Linked DNA regions of Homo sapiens: region 2 is linked to region 1. The links are contacts of gene promoters, found by promoter capture Hi-C in blood cells and fetal thymus (Javierre and others, 2016). All regions are on one chromosome and are shown on one strand. The core of a region is centred on a gene start or on the middle of the fragment in contact, and the rest is flanking DNA. Distances in the headings are between cores, read along the strand shown. Region 1 holds the start of SPTBN1 (spectrin beta, non-erythrocytic 1). Region 2 overlaps ACYP2 (acylphosphatase 2).

The links. The method cuts DNA at HindIII sites, captures the fragments that hold promoters and counts their contacts. A CHiCAGO score of 5 or more calls a contact.
Region 2: a fragment that was not itself captured here is called in contact with the fragment with the promoter of SPTBN1 in region 1 in 1 of 17 cell types (endothelial precursors); the score reaches 5.2 in endothelial precursors.

The regions. Positions count from the first base shown.
Region 1 is chr2:54,451,774-54,458,984 of GRCh38, forward strand. It overlaps SPTBN1 (spectrin beta, non-erythrocytic 1), which reads left to right and starts at 4,554. Exons shown (of 36, transcript NM_003128.3): 1 at 4,554-4,745. The HindIII fragment of the contact is 18,714 bases long and covers 1-7,211 here.
Region 2 is chr2:54,209,750-54,216,960 of GRCh38, forward strand. The region is part of intron 3 of ACYP2 (acylphosphatase 2); the gene reads left to right. Among named protein-coding and RNA genes, the nearest start is that of TSPYL6, 43 kb to the right of the region's middle. The HindIII fragment of the contact is 3,633 bases long and covers 2,447-6,079 here.

The DNA of each region.
Region 1 (7,211 bases), core at 3,304-5,803:
TAAAAAGTCAAAAAATAACAGGTGCTGGAGATATTGCAGAGAAAGAAGAACACTTTTACACTGTTGTGAGTGTAAATTAGTTCAACCATTGTGGAAAGTAGTGTGGCGATTCCTCAAAGAGCTAAAAGCAGAATGACCATTCAACCCAGCAATCCCATCACTGGGTATATAACCAAAGGAATATAAATCATTCTATCATAAAGACACATGCACATGTATGCTCACTGAAGCACTATTAATAATAGCCAAGACATGAAATCAACCTAAATGTCCATCAGTGGTAGACTGGATAAAGAAAATGTAATACATATACACCATGGAATACCATGCAGCCACATAAGAACAAGATTACGTCCTTTGCAGAAACATGGATGGAGCTGGAGGCTGTCATCCTTAGCAAACTAATACAGGAAGAGAAAACCAAATAGCGCATGTACTCACTTATAAGAAGGAGGTAAATGATGATAACACACAGACACAAACATGGGAACAATAGACACTGGGGCCTACTCTAGGGTGGAGGTTGGGAGGAGGGAAGAGAATCAGAAAAAATGACTATTGAGTAATAGGCTTAGTACCTGGGTGATGAATTAATAAGTATAACAAACCCCTGTGGCACAAGTTTACCTGTTTACAAACCTACATATATACTCCAAACCCAAAATAAAAGTTAAAAAAAAACCCAAAAGAATTTTCTGAATGGTTAAAAAAAGTAACATACGCACAACGTAAAACTTACCATTTTAACCATTTTCATACAGTTTAGTGGCATTATGTACGTGTACATCGTTGTGGAACCATCACTACCATCCATCTCTAGAACTTTCTTCCATCTTGCAAAATAGAGTTATGTTGAGTAATTCATATGCAATGCCCAGGCATACAGCTCTGATATGCTAGCTCCTAAGATATCTCTGGCACTTAACTAGCTGTGAGAACTTGGGCAACTCATTTGACCATTTGGTCATCCACAGAATGGGGTTAATATTTACCTCACAGAACTGGCAAAAGGACAAAATAAGATAATATTTGATAAAGCATTTTAAAAACTGGAAAACATTTTATGGTTGCTACTTATAATCATTATTATTATTAACATAGAAAATGTGAAGATCTTTTATAGAAAGCTGAGACCATTTATTGTGATCATTTTATAAATATTGTTATACATTTAGGTTACCATCTATTCAGATTTATCATTACACATATCTTTTACTTTTTTATTGATTGATTATATCTAGAATGGAATACTAGATATAATCTACTAGAATGGAAGATCCATGAAAGCAATGATTTTTTAAAATTATTTTACCCATTGCTCTATTTCAGAGCCGAGAAGAATATAAGGCATATCTATCTCTTGAATAATGAAAGAATAAATTACTTTATGCAAGAGTAAATATGTTATTAGTGCTTTAAAAAATTCATTCATAATGATAGTTTACATATAAGTCTTTAGGTTTTCCCAGTGCAAAATTAATACATGTGAATTCCCAAATGAAATATATTTTAAATATGAGGAAATTTCCCAGACTAGTTCAGAGTTAAAAGGAAGCAAGTTTAGGAGTAAACAGGAATTTTAAAAATATATGCAAGTTTTCAAAATATGTTCTGATTTTAAAGTTTTGGGCTATTATCAGTACAATAAAAGATGAGTTCAATTGGGTTAATATAATATAACCAAGGAAATACTTAGAGTATCATTCTCTTTTCTAAACAAAACAGGTTGTAGTAGACAATACTGTTTATCAATACCTTTTTATTTTATTTTATTTTATTTTATTTTTTGAGACAGAGTCTCGCTCTGTCACCCAGGCTGGAATGCAGTGGTGCGATCTCGGCTCACTGCAACCTCCGCCTTCCAGGTTCAAGTGATTCTCCTGCCCCAGCCTCCAGAGTACCTGGGACTATAGGCGTGTCTCACCATGCCCGGCTAATTTTTGTATTTTTAGTAGAGACGGGGTTTCGCCATGTTGGCCAGGCTGGTCTTGAACTCCTGACCTCAGGTGATCCACCCACTTCAGCCTCTCAAAGTGCTGGGATTACAGGCATGAGCCACCGTGCCCAGCCTTCCCCTACATTCTGAATGGAAAGTTAAAATGACAATTTATATCTGTAAAAATTTTGTAATAAAGTATTTTGATGGGAGATAAAGCCATATGCAATCACATGGTTTTAAAAGTGGAGAGTAGTATGTTACAAACATGATATTGAAGACTTCTAGGTTCCTTTATATCAACCCTGATTCTAATATGAGAAGAAACTAAGCCGCTTCTGAGATACATGGGAATAATCCTTCTGAGCTGTTATCACTGCCTAAGACTTTTTATCTTTTTTAGATTTTGCCTTCCATAAAAATGTCTTCTCCAATAATCTTTCCAGTTGTACTATCTTTTCTTTGAATTGTTACTTCTTTTTGGTCGTTGGTACACTGAGTTCTCTAGGGTGATTTTTTGCACCTAAGGGTAAGAATTCAAAATTGTGATGCAGGTATTTACAGTAGAACTCTGAATCCTTGTCTTTCACATTTTTGGAATAATTACTGGGGCTTTACTAGAGTACCTTGCTAAGGTGTGTGTGGCCTTTTTTTTTTTTTTAATTAAAAAACAACGTAAGTGGGAGTGGAATGGGGTAAGGGAGGTGAATCATTCATCAAATGAAAATTTATTTAAATACCGTTGTCTGTGATAAAGGAATAACCATTTCAGAATAACACTGGAAGAATTAATTTAAATGGATGCACTTCCCAATATTGTTACTGTTTTCTTTGGTATTTCATTAACATTGTGAGTGGGGAGGTGCTGGGGTCCATGGTAAAAAAATAAGTAAGTGAAAGGCAAACAACTTTGCTTTCTAGTGGATTTCCCTTATTACCTAATGAGGGCAGCAGCTTACAAGTTGATTGTGTTCAATTCAACAAATTTGTTTTAGTACCTAAGTGCCTGCTATATGTACAGAGTGAAGAAAGAAATAACCCTACCTTTAAGAGAGTTTACGGTCTGGTTGTGTTGATTCACCTTCTGAGAAAAAATGTTATTTGCTTTCCTCAATTTTTTTCCTATCAAAAGTAAACATAGGTTCAAACATTCAAACCTATGAAGGCCTAAAAGGAAGAATCATCTTCAGTTTGCTGTGACGATTTCACTGAGTTTTATTTTAAAATATTCATTTAAAAATACATACAAACATATAAACCCATCAGGCCAGGTTCTAGTGATCTGAGATATAAGCATGATACAAACTACTTGGCTGCCGTGTATTTTTGTTTTATTTTAATCCAGGTGATCAGGTCTGTATGGGGAAAAAGCCCTGGGGCTTTTTCAAACAGGAAGGGCCCTCCTCCCTCTGAATGCCCGCAGTGCCGCCCTGTGCACTTTACAGAACAAGGAGAAAGTCAGTTTCTTCAAACTGCTTTTCTAAAGAGCGTTTCCATTCGTGGTCCTGGTGATTCCACCATCTTTTCTTCACAACAGTGACGGTTCTGGAATTTCTACACAGCCTGAGGGGCTGACGGGGTAGACCAGGTGACTGGGAAGGGGCAGTGGCACATGACAAAAATTTGAGGAAACGTCCAGTTTCCGTTTCAGGGAATGCGCATAGGGGAAAACGCAAGTCCCCACGCCATCACGGGGCCCTCCACCGCGGCCGGACGACCCCTCTCTCGGGAGTGACTGGGGCAGGGCACCTGGCCTCAGGTTCGAGCGGAGCCTGCACTGAGAGGCAGGAGTTGGATGAACCACTTGTAGGGTCTGCTCCCAGCTACCCAAAGCGAAAGGGTGGGCGAAAAAGCATTTGCAAAAGAATACATTAACCTCACAAGGAACGACCCCCACCACCCATCCTCCAGCGCCCAAGGTTTCCCACGAAGAGGTCGCCGTCGCCCTTCTCCAAGTTGGGTAGAACCTATAAGGCATCACCAACTGCATCTCAAACCAACCAAGCAAGTGACGCTCCAAAACCTCCCTAAATACCCTCTCTCCCCAGCATTCCGAACGCAACATCAAGGGCGAAAAGAGGCTGCACAAATCACGTAGAAAATTAGACCGCCTCTTTCCATGGCGATAATCGAATTAGCCTCAAATTAAACGTGAAATTGGCCCTCTCCGGCTGTGGAGACAAAGCCCCTATTGTCCTGCTCGGGTAGCGGCAGCAGCAGTGCCCACCCCGCCCCGGCCAGCCTGGTCGGTCCCCGCCGCTGGGAGGATGAGGTCCGGGCTGGACCCGGGAAGAGCCTCAGCTGGAGAGGACGTGGACGCGCCCGAGGCTCGGCTCCCTGGGCGGCTGCGGGGCTCCGGGCAGGAGGAGAGGGCGGGCGAAGCAGAGGGAGCGGGCGGGAGTGGGGAGGGAGGAGTGCGGAGGGCGGAGGGCGTGCGGGAGGGATCCCGGGAGTGCGCTTGTGTGTGTGTGCGCGCGCGCCCGCCCCGCGCGCTCCTCTCCCCGCCCCTCGCCCCCTCCCTGCGAGCGCCCTCCTCTCCTCCTCCCCCCGCCCCCCGCGCTCCCGCCCAGCCCCCGGAATCAGTGCCGCTGTTGCCGTGCAGGCTGCGGATTCCTCCAGTCCCTCCCTCGGCCGCCTCTCCTCCCGGAGCGAGCGCGCAGCCCTGCGCAGCAGCGCCCACTGGTCCCGTCCTGTGAGCCCCGGCCCCAGCCGCGGACAGACCCGCGGAGTCGCCTCCCGGCCCACCCGCCCGGCCGCCGAGGAGCGGGAGGAGGACGGGACCCCGGCGCCCCCACCCCATCCCCGGGAGGTAGGTAGGGGGCCCGAGGCAGGGAGATGCCAACTCACTGGGGCTGCCTCCCGGGTGGGCTCCGCGGCGGCGGACGGGCGGGAGGAGGGGCGCGGGCCCAGGGCCGGAGGACGCCGCTGCCCGCCTGCCCTGCGCCCGGGGAGCCGCGTGGGGGCAGGGAGGCTGCAAAGCCCGGGCGGGGGCGGCGCGGGGAGCCCGGGTCGCGGGTGCTCATTGGTACTCGGATGATGCGGGACGAGGGGCGGCAGGCTCTGCGGTGAGGCGGCAGCAGACCCGCCGTGCGCACCGCTGCCGTCCGGCCCCAGCCCCGGCGCGGCGCGGCGATTCCTCCTCCCTGCCTCCGCCGGCGCCTCCCTGCAGCCGGGCGCGGCGGCCCCTGACGCGGAGGCCCCTGGCGCGGAGGTGGGTGCGGAGCGGACAGCGGACAGCCGGAGGGTCTATTTTCAGGTGCCCTCTCTGTGGCCCCGCGGGTGGGGAGCGGGGGCGGCGGTGACAGGGCCGGGCTCTGCGCGTAGCGGTGCAGGGGATGCGGCCAGGCGTGGTCCCGGCTGCGCCGCGCTGCAGCTGAGCCGGAGGCGGCGGCCCCGCGCCCCCACCTCCGCCCCATCCCTGCGCTTGCTACCCTCGTGCGCCCGCCCCCCCCCCGCCCTTTCTGCCGTCCCCACTCTCCCAGGGCTGGGCGTGAGCCGCCTCCGGGCGCCGAGCCGCCGCTGCGCCCGCCCTTCAGCTCCTGCCACCCTCTCTTCAACAGGTTTGTCTCAGCGCAGGGACCCTCCGGGCCTGCTTTGGGTAGGTGGGCTGGCTCGTCATCACCCCCCACACCACGCCCACGGCCCTCTTTTAGGGGGCGCCTTCTCTTTGTTTTTGTGATAGGAAAGGTGCCAACTGCTGCCATCAGATGAGGAGGGGGTGGGGATCAGAACGCAAACCTCTGTCCATTATTTTTCCAATCGAAAGCCAGGCCAGATAGTAAGTGAGGACAGGGTGCGTGTGGGGGTGCTTCGGCGGAGCAGAAAATTGAATTCGGTGGGGTTTATTTGGGCGGGGATGTGCTTTTTTGGCAAGATGGATGGCTCACGGTGCCCTCGCCGTGATGCAGCACAATGCAGCAGTATCGCAGCTTCCTTGGTTCTCGCTGGCGGGGCTTGGCACGGCCGCTCGGCGCCTGCGGCCCCCGCCCGGCCCCACCCAGGCCCGGGGCTGCCCTTGGCCGAGGCCTGGAGCTGCTGCTACCTTGTCCTGCAGCTTCTGCTGGATGTGGCGTCAGGAGGACCAGGTCAGCTAGGTGTGAGCAGGGGAGAGTCTTTTCTTTTGGGATGATCCCTCCTGCACCTCTTCTTGGGCTGCGCTCTGCCGGAGGGGCGCCCTGCATCACCAGTGCAGGCAGAGGGGAGCCGGCCTGTGGTTGCGGATCGGAATCTGATCTGCGACCAGGGGACCTGAGCCATAGGGAGGGGCTGCAGGAAGGACTGGGCCCAGTGGTGTGCGGAGGCAATGTTGCAGTGTGGGGAGTCGCAGCGTTTTTCTGTGGATCGTCCATAATCTGTAACCACAACCCAGCTATGCATTAATTTTTTCTACGTGAAAAGTTGGTGTTTATTAATTGGACCTTCACAACTGTGACATTACAGTACCTCGTCTGTCTTTGGTTAATACCAAGTATGCATTTTTTCTGTAGGAAACCATTTTTAAATGAAATGATTAATGCATTTTGGGTTTTATGTCACTAAGACATTTATAAGTATATTAAAATTCAGTAGGTTGTTTTAAAAGGAATTTATATGTTTTTTAATGGATAGTAAATGATTCCTTTAGCTTGTATTTTGTTTTCATCGTTTGCTTTTTCTAAGTCAAGTACAGTTGCATTATTTGGATGCTTTATTAAGGATTATTAGGTGTATGAGTGTCATGATGGGGGCTAAATTGGTATTCAGATTTCTATTGATTGAGGTAGCCAAGTTAAGTGTCCGGGCGTAATTAATGGGATTATGACAGTAACACTGCGTTTGTGTTTGTTTATATGTATTTTTTGTATACATATTTTTCACAGCTGTGACTGGGGAGAGGGTGGAGAAGGGCAGACCACCAAGGCCTCTTGACTGGCATCTAGTCAGAAGGAGATGGTTCCCAGTGTTCTCATGTTTAGTCTCGGCCAGGACACAGGGAATTTCCCTTCTAAATGCCATCTCTATAATTCATTATTCAGTGTGGGATGGCAAATGGGATATATTTCAAATGTCAACCCAGGCTTTCCTAAAATGTTTAGGTGAAAAAGGAAATTTCAATATGCTAGTTGGAAGGGAAGGTCAGTGTTTACAAGCCAAGGGCGTGCCTGCTTGTATTTTTAAATATTTCTAATGAATCCAAGTTAGTTGCTTTTGATTTCATGTGGCTCTGCAGAATAGAACTGCATGTACATTGTGTGGTGTATGTGCGTTATTTTGAGTTTCTCTAATAGCCATTAAA
Region 2 (7,211 bases), core at 3,013-5,512, 240 kb before region 1:
GGCCATCTTCACTCTATTCCTGCCATGTTGAGCTTTGAAGTTGAGGAATAAAGCAGAAGCAAGGATGGAAAAAAACTTACTTTGCAATCAATAAATAAAATTTAAATCAAGGCCGGCGCAGTGGCTCACACCTGTAATCCCAGCACTGTGGGAGGCTGAGGCTGGCGGATCGCTTGAGGCCAGGAGTTCAAGACCAGCCTGGCCAACATGGCGAAACCCCGTCTCTACTAAAAATACAAAAATTAGCTGGGCATGGTGGCGGGCACTTGTAATCCCAGATATTCCGGAGGCTGAGGCAGGAGAATTGCTTGAACCTGGGAGGCAAAGGTTGCAGTGAGCTGAGATTGCGCCCCTGTACTCCAGCCTGGGTGACAAGAATGAGACTGTGTCTCAAAAAAAAAAAAAAAAAAAAAAAAAAATTAACAGAGAACCATGGTACTACATTCCTTTTCTCTTAAATCCTTGATAAAACTAATGTATATCATAAAGCAGAGTTCCCCAAGTTGAGAAATAGATCCCATCCTCTTTTAGAAAAATAAAATCCCTGGACTTCCAATGTTGACTGAAATTGCTTTTATTATGTTACTTACATTACTTATATTGTTTATTACATTACTTAATATATACAAACATATAATTTTTGTGCTTATAACTCTATACAAATAAAACTAAAACAATAAATATAAATAGAATTACAAAACCATTACATTCAAATGAGCGGTGTTATAATTCACTTCCAATATGTTTTAGTGGGATGGGTGACTCTGCTTTGTTGAAATAGTTGTTGATTTAGGGGATTATAGTAGAAAGATGTTGCCACAAGTCTAGTTCTATGGTTCATCTGTTTCTGTATTTGAATTTTGATAATACATATCTAACAAATACCTATTTGCACAAGTATTGTAAGTACTTATGAGTATTGTTTATTCAAAACAGTATTAATAATTTTCAGTCTCTAATTGGAAATTAGGCTCATTAAGTCTTTTTTTTTCAGTAAAACTCTGCCAGTGAATAGTCTTGGAATAGCAGATTAAAGATGTATCACTTGGTAACTCTTTAAAGCTCCATTACTTGAGAGTAAAGTTAGCCTGATTGACATCTTCATTAAATAGGCATCTGATGCAATTGCTGCTAGGCCCAGGAATAGAAAAAAAATTTTTTTGCATACTTATGACCATACTTATTTCCAATAAATTGATATGAGTTGGTATAAGCAAAGATGGCACTGGTCTCTTTCACCTCTCTGCTTATTTGGACCATAGGGCCTTCCTTCTGGCCGTACAGATTTCCCTGAAGTCAACTGATGTAAACTCAATTGTACATACAAACGACTGCACAAAGATCTCATGAAGTACTCAGTTGCATGGGGTCATCTGAAAGACGCAGACTATCTTTAAATTTCTTTTTATAGATTATCATAAAAATTAAAACAGAAATATTTTTTAAAACATCAATAATTTGAAGACCTTTAATAATAGATTCATAAATTTTTGTTTTAGAAATACTGTTAGAGTTTCCTGATGGCAAAAAATGAATAAATACTTTGGGCTCCAAAACCAAATTTCTATGCATTTAAACATGCAAATAGTTTTTCAATTCTAAAGCCACTTAAAGTATAGCATTACAGTGATATTTAACTAATATGAAATATGCATTTTATGTAAGTTTGATGTGTGTTTTATTTTAAGAGAAAAACCTAACTGCTGTTAGTTCTTGCTCTGCTAATCCCATCTACTTGGTATCCTGATCTACCTAGTTTGGTTTAAAGTATGATTGGGAAGCTCAGCTTTGGTGTCTTTTATATCCAGTCCTGGCTATGGTTAGTGTTGTCAGTTCTATGTTTGAGCATATAATTTTTATTTTATTTTACTTTGGAAACTATGATGTTCAAATCTTCATGTATTACTGGTTATATTTAATTTGAATATTTCAATATTAGAAGAAGTGATTTGTTTACCAAACTCTAGACTCACCAGTGTTTCAAATATCTAAATGATGTCTACCATTTCTTTGTCTATGTATTGCATTACAGTGCAACTTTAAGGCTCATTATTTCATCTTTAATTGACCAGCAGGGTAAGACATAATCAGTGCTTGAAAGTGCAAATAGAGCAAACTTGTATGCTTCATGATGCCAGGAACTCTGCTTTCTTTCTGTCTCTCTCTCTCTCTCTTTTTTTCTGACTTATTTCTAGCTAATTTATTTCGGGCAGGATTTCAACCAGGGGCTGATTGTAAGCTCCACTCACTGCCTGCCATAGTGCTTGGCACATAGTAGGTGTTCACTGTAGATGAATGAAGGGATAAACAAATGAAGAATGAATGACTGGTATACTAGTAGTGGTGATGGCGTGGCAGTGTTAGTTTTTTAGCAGAGGCAAATTTTGGATTTTTTTTAAAAATCTGAAGCTGGAGAGTTTTATCTCACTGATCTTCATATTGCCCAAGCTTTTATTTATTTTGGGGGATGCAAAGTCTTTTAGAAAATTTGCTAATTTCATTGACTAATACACACAGGGTGAGGATGATCTTTGGAAAATCAAGTGGATGGATTGCCTTTCACATTGTAGTAAATAATTGTCATAGATTACATATCAAATTGCACATAGAATTTCTGCTTTTCAATTTTAATTTGAGTTCACCTGTCATCCTGGGACCTCAGCTGTAATCTCCTTTTCCCTGCACGGCTGACTGAGAATGCATTTCCTTGTGCTTTACTAGGACTGGAAAAACCCAGTTATGATCATCTTAGTAGTGGTCTGTCTTCCAGGCTTTATTATCTGCTTCCCAACTCTCAGCATCAAAACAGGAGTTACCATATCCAATGAATACAAAGAAAATGGCTTAATTTCTGACACATAGCTTATTGAATGTGACCCAGGCAGCAAGGATGTGGTACAGAGGAGCTAATATGCATTCCTCATTAGTCAGCTCACCCATGTGGTCAGCAGATTCCTTTTCTAAAGTAGTTGTGTAATCTGCAGCAGCACAGTAGCCAAACACAGTTGATAAATTACGTTTATTTCATTTTGACAAAAAGAGTAAATATATTCTTGTACAAAAATATTCAAAAAGTTTAATGTAAAGAAGTAAATTTAAATCACCTGTAATCTCACCATCTAGAAATACACTCATTTAAATAGAAGCTGCCACTTTACTTTTTTTTTTTTTTTAAATGTCATGGCTGTTTTTTCTCCAACTTTTATTTTAGGTTCAGGGGATACATGTGCAGATTTGTTACATGGGTAAATTGCATGTCACAGTTGTTTGGTGTACACATTATTTCATTACTCAACTAATGAGCCTAGTACCTGATAGTTTTTCGATGGTCACCCTCCTCCCACCCTCCACCCTCAAGTGGTCGCTAGTGTCTGTTGTTCCCTTCTTTGTGTCCATGTGTACCCAGTGTTTAGCTCCCATTTTTAAGAGAGAACATTGGTATTTGGTTTTCTGTTTCTGCATTAATTCGCTTAGCATAATGGCCTCCAGTTCTATCCATGTTGCTGCAAAGGACATGATTTCACTCTTTTTTGTGGCTGTGTAGTATTCCATGGTGTATATGTACCACATTTTCTTTATCCATTCCACCATTAATGGGCATCTAGATGGATTCCATGTCTTTGCTCTTATGAATAGTACTGTGATAAACATATACGTGCACGTGTCTTTATGGTAGAATGATTTATATTCCTTTGGGTATAGACCCAGTAATGAGATTTCTGGGTCAAATAGCAGTTCTGTTTTAAGTTCTTTGAGAAATCTCCAAACTGCTTTCTAATTTATTCCCACCAGCAGTGTATAAGCATTCCCTTTTCTCTGCAACCTCGCCAGCATCTGTTATTTTTTGACTTTTTAATAGTAGCCATTCTGACTGGTATGAGGTGGTATCTCATTGTGGTTTTGATATGCATTTCTCTAATGATTAGTGATGTTGAGCATTTTTTCATGTGCTGTTGGCTCTGTGTATGCGTTCATTTGAGAACTATCTGTTGATGTCCTTTGCCCCCCACCCCACACCCCCTACTTTTTTTTGAGACAGGATATCACTCTATTGCCCAGGCAGGCTGGAGTGCAGTGGCATGAACGCTGCTCACTATAGCCTCAACCTCCCGGGCCCAAGCGATCCTCCTGCCTCAGCCTCCCAAGTAGCTAAGACCACAGGGGCATGCCACCACACCTGGTTATTTTTTTATTTTTATTTTTTTGTAGCGACAAGATCTCCCTGGTCTTGAACTCCTGGACTCAAGCAGTTCTACCACCTCAGCCTCCTGAAGTGCTGGGATTACAGGCATGAGCGCCCATGCCTAGCCATCTTTGCCCATTTTTTTAATGGGGTTGTTTGGTTTTTGCTTGTTAATTCGTTTAAGTTCCTTATAGATTCTGGATATTCGAGCTTTGTTGGATGCATAATTTGCAAATATTTTCTTCCATTCCATAGGTTGTCTGTTTACTCTGCTGATAGTTTATTTTGCTGTGCAGAAGCTCCTTAATTTAATTAGGTCCTACTTGTCAATTTTTGTTTTTGTTGCAATTGCTTTTGGAGTCTTTGTCATGAAATCTTTGCCAGGGCCTACGTCTAGAATCTCATTTCCCAGGTTTTCTTCTAGGGTTTTTATAGTTATACATTTCACGTTTAAGTCTTTAATCCATCTTGTGTTGCTTTTTTATATGGTGAAAGGAAGGAGTCCAGTTTCAATCTTCTGCATATGGCTAGCCAGTTATCTCAGCACCACTTATCGAATAGGGAGTCCTTTTCCCATTGCTTGTTATTGTCAACTTTGTCAAAGATCAGATGGCTGAACATGTGTGGCTTTATTTCTGGGTTCTCTAATCTGTTTCATTGGTCTATGTGTCTGTTTTTGTACCAGTATAGCACACTTTTGGTTACTGTAGCCTTGTAGTGTAGCTTGAAGTCAGGCAGTGTGATGTCTCTGGATTTGCTTTTTCTGTTTTTGTTTTCTGCTTAGGATTGCTTTGGCTATTCAAACATTTTGGTTCCATATGAATTTTAGAAGAGTTTTTTCTAATTCTGTGAAAAATGTCATTGGTAGTTTGATAGGAATGGCATCAAATCTGCAAATTGCTTAGGACAGTATGGCCATCTTAACAATATTGATTCTTCCTATCTGTGAGCATGGAATGTTTTTCCATTTGTTTGTATCATATCTGATGTTTTTCAGCAGTGTTTTGTAATTCTTGTTGTAGAGATCTTTCACCTTCCTAGTTAGCTATATTACTAGGTATTTTATTCTTTTTGTGGCTACTATGAATAGAACTGCAATTTTGGTTTGGCTCTCAGCTTGGATGTTACTGACACATAGAAATGCTACTGATTTTTGTATATTGATTTTGTATCCTGAAACTTCGAAGTTGTTTATCAGATCTAGGAACCTTTGGGCAGAGACTTTGGGGTTTTCTACGTATAGAATTACATTGTCTGCTAAGAGAGAAAGTTTGACTTCCTCTCCTCCTGTTTGGAATCCTTTTATTTCTTTTTCTTGCCTAATTGCTCTGGCTAGGACTTCTAGTACTATGTTGAATAGGAATGGTGAGAGAGGGCATCCTTGTCTTGTGCCAGTCTTCAAGGAGAATGCTTCCAGCTTTTGCCTATTGAGTATGATGTTGGCTGTGGGTTTGTTATAGATGGCTCTTATTATTTTGAAGTATGTTCCTTTGATGCCTGGTTTGTTGAGTGTCTTGGTTATTTTATCAAAAGAACTTAAAAATACATTTTATTTATTACCCAAGTAATACATGTTTACTTTTAGAAAAATCAGAAGATATAGATTAAATCAAAAGAAAAATACTTACTATGATACCATGATACCATCTTGTAGATAGCTGCTATTGTGGTTTGGGCATATATTCTTCCAGACTTGTAACTTCACAATAAATTGTGTAAATTTATAACAAGGTATATAATTTCTTATAAAACTGGAAGCATACTATGCATAGTTAGGTGTAATCATTTTTCTGACTCTCTTTCCATGTCAGTAAATATATTTCCCTGTAATCATTACTAATGGCTGCAAGACATTCCATTGTATTTATGTATAAAATAAATAAATGTATTTAATAAAGCTTATACTGATGAAAATTAGGTCATTTAAAAACTGTCTTTATATGGAGTTTGTGCCAAAAAACACAAACATTTTACATTTACATTTACATTTCTGTGAGTCCAATCTGTCAGTCTTGTTATGGTTTCTGCATTTGGGATCAGGCTGAGGAATTCCTCCCTGATACAAATATTTTTAAATTATTCAGCTCTGTTTTCATCTGTTTTAACACTAAAGACTTTAGCCAATGTAGAATTTTTCTTATGTGTTATGAGCCAGGAATCTAACTTTAATTTTTTCTAAAAAACTTTGTTAAATAATTCATCCCCCTGCTAATTTAAGATGCTGGTTTTGTCACAAGCAATAATCCATATAAATAATTAGGTCTGTCCCTAAACTTTTATATTTAGTTCTATGATCTATTTCTGTGCCAGATTTATACTGTTTTGATTATCGAGGGTTTATAATATGCTTCAGTTGATGTCTGGTTGAGCAAAACCCCTCTTTTTCTCAAAGTTTTTTGGCTTGTCTAACAGCTGATCATCTTCCAGATATGTCTAGAATAATTTGTCAAATTATACAAATATTTTACAACTTGACATTTTATTGGAATTATATTAAATATGAAGATTAATTTGGGGAGAGTGACATATTTATAATATTGTCCCATCAAATAATATAAAATATATCTCTATTGATGAATCTTTTTTTTTTAACTCCTAATCACGTTTACATTTTTTTTTTTTTGAGACAGAGTATCGCTATGTCACCTAGGCTGGAACGCAGTGGCGCAGTCTCAGCTCACTGCAACTTCAGCCTCCTGAGTTCAAGCGATTTTCATGCCTCAGTCTCCTGAGTAGCTGGGACTACAGACACACACCACCACACCTGGCTAATTTTTGTATTTTGGTAGAGATGGGGTTTTACCATGTTGGCCAGGCTAGTCTCAAACTCTTGGCCTCAAGTGATCCACCCGCCTTGGCCTTCCAAAGTGCTGGAATTACAAGCGTGAGCTACTGCACTGAGGTCTAATCACATTTTTAGCTTGTCATATAGCTACTGCACATTCTTGTTAAGTTTATTTTACAATATCTTATTCTTTGTTTCTATTGTAAGTGGAAGCCCTTTCTCACTTGCTCTGATGATTACTAG